4 separate regions of the Homo sapiens genome follow, and regions 2, 3 and 4 are each linked to region 1. The links are contacts of gene promoters, found by promoter capture Hi-C in human tissues and cell types (Jung and others, 2019). All regions are on one chromosome and are shown on one strand. Each heading gives the region's core, a stretch centred on a gene start or on the middle of the fragment in contact. The rest is flanking DNA. Distances are from core to core; before and after follow the strand shown. Region 1 holds the start of ADAMTS7 (ADAM metallopeptidase with thrombospondin type 1 motif 7). Region 2 has its middle 41 kb from the start of IREB2. Region 3 holds the start of HYKK (hydroxylysine kinase). Region 4 overlaps PSMA4 (proteasome 20S subunit alpha 4).

Region 1 (2,712 bases), core at 213-2,712:
TGCTCCCCTCAACGGCTTCCCAAACCTCTAAGATCAAGAGTCAATGTCCCCATCCTTCCCGCCCAGACTACTTTCTCGTCACAATCCCTCCAGTGGGGAGGCAGGTCGACCCCATCCCAGCAAGCAACCCTAATCCAGTCCCCCGACTGATGCTCCCCAGGGGAGGGCCCCACTCCCTCCACGCCCTTCTAGCTCATCCAGAATCCATCCATCCTTCCAGTCTCTCCAACCTCATGCCCCTCCTCTCCTACAAAGCCTGCCGGTCGGCTCTATTGCAGGACTCTCCCCACTATCCACCGGCTCCCCTGACTGGGAGCTCCCTGAGCACCGGGCCTGGGGTCTCCTACATCCTCGGTTACTGAATTCCCAGGCCGGCTGCGTCGGACGCGCCAGCAGCGCGGCCGCCCGGCAGGTCGCCGCCAAACAAGAGTCTGGACGCAGGCCAGAGGCTCGTCGGAGGCCGGCCCGGCGGGGCGGGGAGAGTTAACCCATGGCCGGGAAAAGAAGCTCCTGCTCCCCGCTCCACTCCCGGCGTCTTCACACTTGGGGAAGGGAGAGGCAGGAAGTGCAAGGACCGCGCAAGACCCGGCCCCCCGAGCCGCCAGGGGCCGCGCCAGCAGCCCAGATGCGGTGGGCGGGAGCTGGGGGGGCGGCGGGGTCCCGCGAAGACCTGCGACCTGGCGCCCTCGCCGGCTGTGTCCCGGCCAGCCCGCTTTCCAGGCGAGCCTCGCTAAGGAGTGTGAGAAACCAAATCCTCAGTGGGTAAACCGCGCTCCGTCCAGCCCACTCGGACGAGAGCTCTCCCGGGAGCCAGGCGCGTTGCTGCACCCGAGGTGGGGAAACCGGAGCCCGAAGAGCGGAAGGGGCTTATTCCAGGCGACAGGCAGTGTCAGTAACTGAATCAGGGGCCGAGGAAGTTTCCCCAGAAGCGCGGCTTCGCTCCCGGCCCGGCCCGACCCCGACTACTGTCCCCTAATACCCAGGGAGCGGAAGACGCGACCAACTCCAGGCACAGCGGAGCCGGCGCGGGGTCCACAAAGGTGAGGAGGGACAAAACCGAGACTGGGGGAGCGGGAAGGGGTGGCAGGCCCGGCTGGCCGGGGAGGGGCGGACACCCACCTGGTGCGGGTCCGGGGGCGCCGGGAGCCAGAGCGCAGAGGAGCAGGAGGAGGGGGCGCAGCAAAGGCGCGGGGCTGCGGGGACTGGGGCCGCCGGGCATGGCAGGAACCGGGCGGCCGCCGGGTGACCCCGCGCGCACGCTCTCGTCCGTCCCGTCCGGTCGCTGCCTGGTCCCAGGTCCGGCTCAGGACATGCCCGGCCGGCGTGCAGCTCCCGGCGACCCGGCCCCGACTCCGTTCGGCTGCGCTCGGTCCGCGGGCAACAAAGGCTGCAGGGCCCGCCCCCTTGGCCGCTGCAGAGGCAAAGAAAAGACAAGAGAGCTAGAAGGAGAGAAAGAAAGAAAGAAAGAAAGGGAGGGAGAGTGAGGGAGGGCGGCTGCCGGCCCCCGCCCCGCCCCTCGGACTCCTTCCCCCGCCCCTGGCCCCGCCCCGCCCCGGCCGGCCCCGGCCTCATCGGCCCCGCAGGCCGTGCTCGCCTCAAGGGCTGGCCGGCCCGGCGCAGGCAGCGCCCCGCAACGGATGTCCGCCCCCCTCGCCCCCCTGTCCCGAGCGCCCCCTGCCGGCGGAGCCCTGCCAGGCCTTTCCGACCCCGGCCGGTTGAGGACCCCCGGAAAGAATCTGGAATTTCCAGAATTAATGTGTTGTCCCTAAATTGGGCTCCACGAGGTGCCCTTCGCTGTGTTCCCCAGGCCAAGCAGGGCAGCCCCTCAAAAGGGGACGCGGGAGGCCTCCAGAGGGCCACACCGGGGGCCCTGCTTCAAAGCTATCTGCGGAGACAGGCCTGGGCCCTCCCTGGACAGACAGCGGTTGCCCGCGCGAGGTGGGGCCCCGCAGTTCCTCGTCTCCTGACTCCTCTCCTAGTGCGTTTGCTTGAAGCAGAGCGCAGAGTTGAGCCCACAGGCGGGGGACCGCGGCTTCGCCCAGGCCAGCGCCCACAGACTTTCAGCAGGGGCTCCCGGGGAGCCTGGAGGCCGGCCAACCCCAGCCTCACATCCCAGGCCAGCCTCCGCCTCCAACACCGGCCGTCTGTCCTTCGTGGCCCCAGCCCTGGCTCTGGCTTCCGGCTCCCCTTCCCCCTGTGCTCCCAGGAGCTTCCTTTCTCCCTTCTGCCGTCACTAAACATGGCCCTGTACCGAGGACGCCCGTCTTGTCCTCGGGGCGGTTGCGGTCAGCTTCCTCCCCTTGGTTAGTCTTTGTGTGCCCCCTGCCCTCTGAGGCCCGCACACCTCCTCATTGTCCAATCTCCTGGGCCCTTTCATTCAATTCCTGGAAGCTCACTTCTGGCTTCCTCTCCACCCTCAACCTGTCTGTCCTCTAGGGAATTTGTGTAGTACAGGGTCACCTACTTCCTCCATCTCATCTCCAGTGACCTTCCACTCCACCTCAGCCATCAGGTCTCAGGGCCAAAGCCTGGGCTGTGTCATCCCTCAGAACTGCTCCATCTTGGAAATCCGAAGCTCAGGTGCCCCCCTGTCAGACCCGACTCTGCAGTCCTTTCCACCTTCACAGTCCCACTATGTATTGCTCTTCCTCCAGTCCCTTGATACCTTCCTCTTCGCCCAACCTACCAGCCCCTCCTGGCTTCACCTACTTC
Region 2 (2,712 bases), core at 110-2,609, 410 kb before region 1:
CCTGGTCTCGAACTCCCGACCTCAAGTGATCCACCTGCCTTGGCCCCTCAAACTGCTGGAATTACAGGTGTGAACTACTGTGCCCGGCCCAAATCACTCATTTATTGTCTGAAGAGCTGAGCCGTGTGAAGCCCAGCCCCTTGGAGGGTGCTGGGGTTGGATGGGGGTAACCAGTAAGACCCCTGCGTACTGGACACTGTGCTGGGTGCTTCACCACATCCTCTCACTTTCTCCCTGGACTGTCCCTAGGAGTGAGGTGATGGGGACTGTGTTCCTTATTTTACAGATGAGGCAACTGTGGCTCAGAGAGGTTAAATCACTTGCCCAGGGTCACACAGCTAGAAAGTGATGGAGTTGTGATTCAAACCCAGGCCAGTCTGATACCAAGCCTTTGGCCTTCCCGTGTGCTAGACTCCGGGAGGACGACCTAGAATAGTTGAAGCAAGAGCTGTCATATAGGTGAGAAAGAACTTTGGGAGCTATAGCAAGGAAGAGAAAGGAAATTGCATCTTTGAGGCCAAAGATTATTAGTCACAGAGGTATGGCTACCAGGCCCTCGAGCTGTCACTTACTTGCCACAAGCAGGGCCCTGAAAAGCCTGTTTTTTTCTGCTCTGACTTCAAACACAGATTCTCCAAGCAAGAAAGGCTAGCTTGTGAGACCAAGTTTCACAGAGATGGAGCTTGCAGGGAAAGGTCAGAGGAATTGTCCCCGGGTTCCTCAGAGGAGGCAGACGAGTTCGGAGTAGTTAGCAATAAACATATCAGCCCCGGCCCCTAGAGGGCACTGGCCAGAGGGAGCCTCAAGGGAGCAAGCAGGGCTGGGGCATGGAAGCCAGCCAGAGTCCAGCCTAGCTTTGGGCCGGGCCCAGAAACCAGTTCTGTTAAACAAAGCATTACACAACCATCTCATTAACTGCATCAATCCAGAAGGTCAAACTAACTCACTCCAGCGTCTGCGGGGCTCTGTTGGGGTGGGTGGGAGAGGACAGCCTCCTGAATTCCAGGCACTTGGGTCCACGTTGGTTTAATTAGCTCCATGATGTCCGCTTCCCTTGGGCACAGCCTTGCATGCCAGGGCCCTGACAGCTGCCTGGTGCCCCTAGAGGAGCCAGAAAAAGAGGGGGGTGCCTAGGGCAGGAGTGAACCCCTCACCCAGGCCAGCCAGGGCAGGAAGTCTGGGGTTGGCAGAGCAGTGATACAAAGACCAAGGCTGGAGATACCATGTTAGGGCTCAGGCTGAAAGGACCCGGAGAAGCTGTGGGTGAGAAAATGAGGCTGGCAAGTTTGCAGAGTGTGAAGCAAGCCAGGGCAACAGGTTCAAGACAGAGGCCAAAAGGAACACAAAGGTGTCATTGGCCAAGTTGGGGCATTGTCAGTTATAGATATGACAGACTGGAGGTACTCAGCAGGACTGAACTGTGGCAAGTGGTCAGGACTAGAGAACTCGAAGAAAGTCACAGAACTCAAGGAATAATAATAAAGGTAATGGAAAGGTCGGGAAACTAAAACAATTGTTCTCAAAGTGTAGTCCCTAGAGTAGCGGCATTAGTATCACCTGAGAACTTCTTAGAAATGCAAAATATTGGAATCTACCCTAGGCCTTCAAAATCAGACTGGGAAAGGCCCAGCAATCTGTGTTTTAATAAGACCTGAGGGTCATTCTGATGCAGGATGAAGCTTGAGAACCACTAGGCTACTCAGTGTGGTTGGTCCATGGACCAGCACCATCAGATGAAATGGCGCTGAGAGTTTGTTACAAATGCAGACTCTCAGGCCTGGCCCCAGACCTACTGAGTCTGCAGTTTAACAGGATCCCTGGGGCATCCCACGTACCTTTTAATTTGACAAGAGCTACACCTGAGCTCCACTGACCTGGGATTCTTTGGTCTGGGTGTGAATGAGTCTGTGTCTAAGTCCAGGGACAAATAGACACAGATGGCAATGGGGAAGTAGGCCACCCAGTTCCAGGCATAGGCAAAGGCTGTCCTCAGCTCTTCACGAATTTAGACTGCTGCCAGAAAATGTCACCAAGAAAAATAATGGCTTCACTGAGCCTGCAAATGTGCTCAACCTAGACATTGTGCAGAAAGCAGATTGCAAAGGCAACAAGACCAACAGCCCGACAGTGCTATTCGTATTCCATGGGAGACAGCTGGAGCCCCTGAGATGCAGGCGGGCTCCCAACCCTCTGTGATTGTGATGTGGAGATGATTTAAGAAGAAGCAGCCGAGGGTGGCTGTAAGCAAGTGACGCTCCTGAGAAGACAAAGCTGCAGAGATAGGAGGCTGGACCTGTCACCGCTGCCCAGAATGACCCAGGATTCTCATTCTTTCCAGGGAAACCAGTGGGCAACATTGACGACTGACAGGAGGGGACCTTGCCTCCAAGGCTCCAAGGCCGGATAAGAATGGCTTTACCTTCCTGACTCCAGAAAGAACCGCCCTTTTTCCCCACCTCCCTGATGGCTTCCTGGTGCTTGTGATTCTACCAGACTAGCTTTTCCTTTCCCCCTAATAATAGCTGCTAATTAATATTTAGCGAGGGTTTACCAAGCGCCGGGCTCTGAGCTAAGTACCTTGTATGTACTTTTTTCATTTAATCCTCTCAACAGTTCTACTAGGAAGGTACTACTATTTTCAGTATTTACTAATATTTGGGTATTTCTTAATTACTAAAAACATTTCTCATTCTACAGATGAAAATTGAGAGT
Region 3 (2,712 bases), core at 65-2,564, 300 kb before region 1:
ACAAAGGGTGGATGTGCATTGGCAAAAACAAAATAAGAAACCAATTTGCAGGCATGAGTGGACCAGTACCCAGGACTCTCTTCCAGTAGCCTACAGTAGATAGAGGGCTCTGACTTATCGGAGAAGTCCTGCTTGGCTGGAGAAGGGCATCAAGCTGTTTATCAGCGCCTCATGCCCTTAACAGTTAAGACCATCCAACTAACCTGGCTGTTACTCCATGAATCTCGTGCAGCTTTCTGAAAATCATGGGGTCTCTGCGGACTTTCCTGCAGAAAGAGAGCCCACTGATTCCACTACCTAGATAAAGGCGTGGTGGTGGGCCCCTGTAATCCCAACTACTCGGTGTAAGAATTAAAGAAAGAGGAAAGAAACACGAAAAGTGGCTTGGTGGTCATAAGAGGTTTATTTTAGAGAAAACCTGAGAGGGGCGTCTGGCCAAGTTAGGTCAGAGGCACACTCTCTTACAGACTAAGTAAGTTTTTAAGGATTCGGAGTGGGAGAGTTTATCAGAGGCTTGGACTGCTTCTGTGTCTCTTTGTTGTGCTTATCTCGGAGGGAGAGTTGTGTGTCTGTTCCCATACATCTTTCTGCAGCTGCAGACATACCCCCTGAGTCTAATTTTTGTATTTTTAGTAGAGAGGGGTTTCACCATGTTGGCCAGGCTGGTCTCGAACTCCTGACCTCAGGTGATCCTCCCGCCTCGGTCTCCCAAATTTCTGGGATTACAGGCGTGAGCCATCTGCGCCCTGCCTAAACTGTTCGGGTTCTAACATTCCAGCATCCTCCTGCGGAACGCAGCCAGGCCTTACTCAGGCCTTCCAATCAGGACCCTTACAGTTCCTGGGGCTGGGATTGCGAGTCTCTCTGGGGCCACGCTTTCTAAGCGTATCACTTCCAGGATACGTGCCTCCAACAGAAGGAATGAAGGCTAGGAAACAAAAACGTGGATGCGGGTGAGGAGCTGTCAGTGTTACCGCCACGACAACGTGGACCCTGCGAAACTCGGAGGTGCCACTCAAGAGCCGAAAGCCTGCCCACTCGGGGTGGGGCGGCAACCCGGAGAGCCAATCAGGAATAAGGAGTCCGGTTCATGAAAAGGTAGCCGGATTCTGACTGGGATACTCACTGTGAGAAGGCTGGGCGGAGTTGCAGAAAGTCAACAGAAGCCGAATCTCTGAATTTCTGTTCGCAGCCTCCTAGGCGGGGCCGGGAAAAAAATCCAGTAGTCTGCGCTGACTGGGCGGCGAGGGACCGGGAGGAGCCAATCAGAAGTCAGGACTCGCGGGGCTTGGAGGAGGGGCGCGGGCGCTGCGGCCCCTGCTCTACCTCCTAGCGCCGGTGCGCGGCCGAGGCCGCACTACCTGTCTGCGGGAAAGCGGGATCCACCCCAGGACGTCGGGTCGCTGCCGGTGAGCCAAGGAGGGGGAAGCAGAGACGAGCCCTGCGTCCCCGCTGCGGGAGTCGGGGTCGCCCCCGAGGGCAGGGAGGCTCGCTGCAAGTGTGGAGCCGGGAGTCCTATGCCTCAGGCTCCTCCAGCCCGCGCTATCCTCAGCTCGCTGCGTGCGTGATGGGCAAGTCACCCTTCTTCCCGGACCTCACCTGTAACCTAGGAGGGCTGAGCTGGGCCCCCAGAATGAAAGCGTGGCACCCGAGAAGCTGTCGAGGCCAGCCCTCCCGGGTCTGTGTGGGGTCGCTGGCCGAGGGCTGTGCCGGCGCCTGGCCGGTGTCTACTGGGAGCAGTCTCTGAGCTCCGCTGAACCTCACTTACTCATGCGCCCTCCTCCTCTCTTTTCCTGCCTCTTGGTTCAGCAGCCCCTCTGCAGCCCGCTCACCCACCACTTTTTCCCCTTCACCCACCAGGAAGACCCTTAAAAGCACCTAGTAATGCACTGTTGTCTTTGAAAAACTGCAGATGCTAGATTCCCCACCTTTCTGTTTCATGATCCCCTTGGGGTTGAACTGCCCCGTGAGTCTGTGGAATGAAGGTCACCCTTGGTTCACCATTTAATATTAAATAAGGGACTAGCCTAGGGGCTGAGAATACAGAGATTGACTGGGTATAATCCCTTGGAAGGACGCAGCAAAAGGGAATGTAGGAGAAGAAAGGTAGAGTTGGAAGACATGCTAAGGTAGAATTTACTAGACTTTGTTACACGTTGGGAGTGAGGGACAGGAAAGAATCAAGAATGACTCCTGTTTCTTGTCTGGTATACTTTGCACAAAGTACAGAGCTTAAGTTCCAGCCCCCTCCCGGCTGCAGGACAAAGGTGGTGAGATTCTGACGCAGATCTTGGAGTTGGAAATCACACTTGCTTCCTGCGGGCTTTTTCAGGAGCTAAATACTGTTGGCCGGATATATAGACCAACAGCCTATAGTACCTGAATTCCTCCTCTCCCTTTCAATGAAGTAGGAAAAAAAGTTAATAATTTTTAAAAATGTGTGAGTGGGCAACATAGCGAGACACTGTCTCTAAAAAAATAAAAATAATAAAATCAAAAAGACAGCCATGATGGCTTGCACCTGTAATCCCAGCACTTTGGGAGACCAAGGTAGGAGGATTGCTTGAGCCCAGAAGTTCGAGACCAGCCTGGGCAACATAGTGGGACCCTCTCTCTCCAAAAAAAAAAAAAAAAAAAAGGCCAGGCATGGTGGCACCTGCCTGCAGTCCCAGCTATTTGGGAAGCTCAGGTGGGAGGATCCCTTGAGCCCAG
Region 4 (2,712 bases), core at 81-2,580, 270 kb before region 1:
ACACAGATTTGGGTTCAACTCCAGGCTTCACCCATGCAGGCTATGTGACCTTGCACCGATTATTTAATTTCTTTGGGCCTCAGAGCCTCCTAAAGTGGTTGTGGCAGTTTAATGAAATAAAATGAATGAAATAAAATAGTATAGTATCTGGCATTTAGTAGGCCCTCAAAGTATTGTTTAGAATAGCTACGCAGGATTTTGTTGAATTACACTGAATCTTACTAAAGAACAAGCCTCTTAGAGGTCTCGAAGAATTTAGCCAAGCCTTGTACACTGTGTGAAATGTTTGTTATATTTGAGTGTGCAGAACTTTGCAGCTCATGGAGAGCTGACCGTGCTAAGTAGAGACTTTCCTTTCAGTGGTGGTGGGCTTGGTAAATGCTGATTATCAGGGCCTTTTGATAAACTTGTCCAAAGTGGTGTCACCCCTCCACAGAGCCTCTGTTGGGACCACTCAACAGCTGGCAGGCTTGGCTAGGCGTAGTCACAGGGCGAGTCTCAGCTATAAGAGAGCCAGGGCAGCCCTCAGGAAGTGGGCCCAAAAAAATGAAATGCACCTCTAGTAGGAGCCTAGCCCTGTACTTCCTAAGCAGGCTTGTAAACCCTCCTGCCATTGTCCCCTGTCACCTCTGTCAAGCCAGGCCTTAGGAAATGAATATTACTCAAGAGCAGTCTGTCTAGCAAAATCTTTTTTTTTTTTTTTTTTTTGAGACAGATTCTTGCTCTGTCACCCAGGCTGGAGTACGGTGACGCCATCTTGGCTCACTGCAGCTTCTGCCTCCTGGGCTCAAGTGATCCTCCCACCTCAGCCGCCCAAGTAGCTGGGACTATAGGTGCGCACCACCACACCCAGTTAGTTTTTGTATATTTTGTTGAGATGGGATTTTGCCGTATTGCCCAGGCTGTTCTTGATCTCCTGGGCTCAAGCCCTCCATCTACCTCGGCCTCCCAAAGTGCTGGGATTACAGGCGTGAGCCATTGTGGCAAGCCTGTCTTTTTATTCTTTGTTGCTGAATCTTCTTGAGATTACATTAGCTTCTTGGCGTTAATTTTGTTATCCTATTCATAGGTGGTAATGATAAATACATCTATTAAATAACTTAAAGGGTGCATTTGTTTATCTTTCATGTTGAGTGACATCGAGTAAACATCTCCTACAAAGATAAAACTTGTAGGTTTTTTCTGAAGGAAGTAGCTGTTGTGAAGCAAACATAGTGAATTTCTAATAGAAATTAGAATTTTTTAAATACTTATAAACACTCCTTGCAAGCATCTTCCCTGCTTACAGATCAATGTCTTTTTTTCTTCAAGGGACATGGCTTGCAGTGTGGCAGGCATAACTTCTGATGCTAATGTTCTGACTAATGAACTAAGGCTCATTGCTCAAAGGTATGGTCATAAATAGCATAACTGATGATACAGAAATTAGTTTTGATGTTTCTTTTTTTTTTTTTTGAGACAGAGTCTCACTCTGTCACCCAGGCTGGAGTGCAGTGGCACGATCTTGGCTCACTGCAACCTCCGCCTCCCGGGTTCAAGCGATTCTCCTGCCTCAGCCTCCCAAGTAGCTGACCACCACACCGGGTTAATTTTTGTATTTTTAGTAGAGACGGGGTTTCACTGTGTTAGCCAGGATGGTCTCGATTTCCTGACCTCGTGATCCGCCTGCCTTGGCCTCCCAAAGTGCTGGGATTACAGGCATTAGCCACTGCACCTGGCCTAGTTTTGATGTTTCTAAGGAGAGCTCACTTTTGCAAAGATTAAAGTCATTAAAAATCTTTGAATTGAAAATTACAGATTTTTTTCAACCAAACTTACAAAATATTATTTACTATGAGAATATTCAGATGTTGACTTGTTCCCTCCCCTTCAAATTACAAATGACTGTTAGGTTGTCCCCATGGCATAGATTGCTTTTCAGAGAATATTTTCCTTAGAGTCTGTCTGTGTTTTAGAGAAAACTACTAATGTGCCCATCTCTTTATCCTAGGTATTTATTACAGTATCAGGAGCCAATACCTTGTGAGCAGTTGGTTACAGCGCTGTGTGATATCAAACAAGCTTATACACAATTTGGAGGTATTTAATTTTTTTGAAAATTTTATTCGAAAAAGTTAAGACATTTTATGAGTTATAACCCTTTTGAGGTAGTAAAAAATTGAAAATAGACCCTTTGTTTTAAATTAAATTTAATTTTTTTAATTGGCAAATAAGAATTGTACATATTCATGAGGTACATAATGATGTTTCAGTGCACATAATGATCAGATCAGGGTAAATGGCACATTCATCATCTCAAACACTTGTGTTGGGAGCCTTCCATATCCTTCTAGCTATTTGAAACTAATATGTTATGGTTAACTATATTAATCCTACAGTAGTATAGAACACTAGAATTTCATACATTCTTGCTTCATGAATGAACGTGTTCCTCCACCATGTAGATTACCCTCGTTTTATTAATAGGATATTGAAAGTCCAAAACAACATTTTCAAATCTGGAAACTAACTGCTGTTTACATAATAATGAAATTCAGCACTGGTCCTTTGTCTGTTCCCTCTTCTGGCTGTGTCCAAATCGTAGAAACAAAAGTCGAATTTGTAATGGAGCTTATCTATGGTAGCCAGAATACAAAACAGTTTATGAATGCTTAAGTTCACAGAGTAGGGTTTAGCTACCTTCACTGAGCTCAAGTAACTGTAGTGATACTA

What was found. Contacts are between HindIII fragments. The study calls those that stand out against the background at their distance.
Region 2: a fragment that was not itself captured here is called in contact with the fragment with the promoter of ADAMTS7 in region 1 in 2 of the 25 tissues and cell types used here (H1 embryonic stem cells and liver).
Region 3: a contact is called between the fragment with the promoter of HYKK here and the fragment with the promoter of ADAMTS7 in region 1, in 2 of the 25 tissues and cell types used here (liver and mesendoderm cells).
Region 4: a fragment that was not itself captured here is called in contact with the fragment with the promoter of ADAMTS7 in region 1 in 1 of the 25 tissues and cell types used here (aorta).

Annotation. Positions count from the first base shown.
Region 1 is chr15:78,810,002-78,812,713 of GRCh38, forward strand. It overlaps ADAMTS7 (ADAM metallopeptidase with thrombospondin type 1 motif 7), which reads right to left and starts at 1,463. Exons shown (of 24, transcript NM_014272.5): 1 at 1,120-1,463. The coding sequence starts at 1,219. RefSeq lists a silencer at 1,491-1,910. The HindIII fragment of the contact is 14,119 bases long and covers 1-2,712 here.
Region 2 is chr15:78,396,307-78,399,018 of GRCh38, forward strand. No RefSeq gene overlaps it. Among named protein-coding and RNA genes, the nearest start is that of IREB2, 41 kb to the right of the region's middle. The HindIII fragment of the contact is 7,261 bases long and covers 1-2,712 here.
Region 3 is chr15:78,506,263-78,508,974 of GRCh38, forward strand. HYKK (hydroxylysine kinase) reads left to right here and starts at 1,315. Exons shown (of 5, transcript NM_001013619.4): 1 at 1,315-1,409. The HindIII fragment of the contact is 18,918 bases long and covers 1-2,712 here.
Region 4 is chr15:78,542,879-78,545,590 of GRCh38, forward strand. It overlaps PSMA4 (proteasome 20S subunit alpha 4), which reads left to right. Exons shown (of 9, transcript NM_002789.6): 5 at 1,312-1,389; 6 at 1,991-2,079. Among named protein-coding and RNA genes, the nearest start is that of PSMA4, 3.8 kb to the left of the region's middle. The HindIII fragment of the contact is 5,249 bases long and covers 1-2,712 here.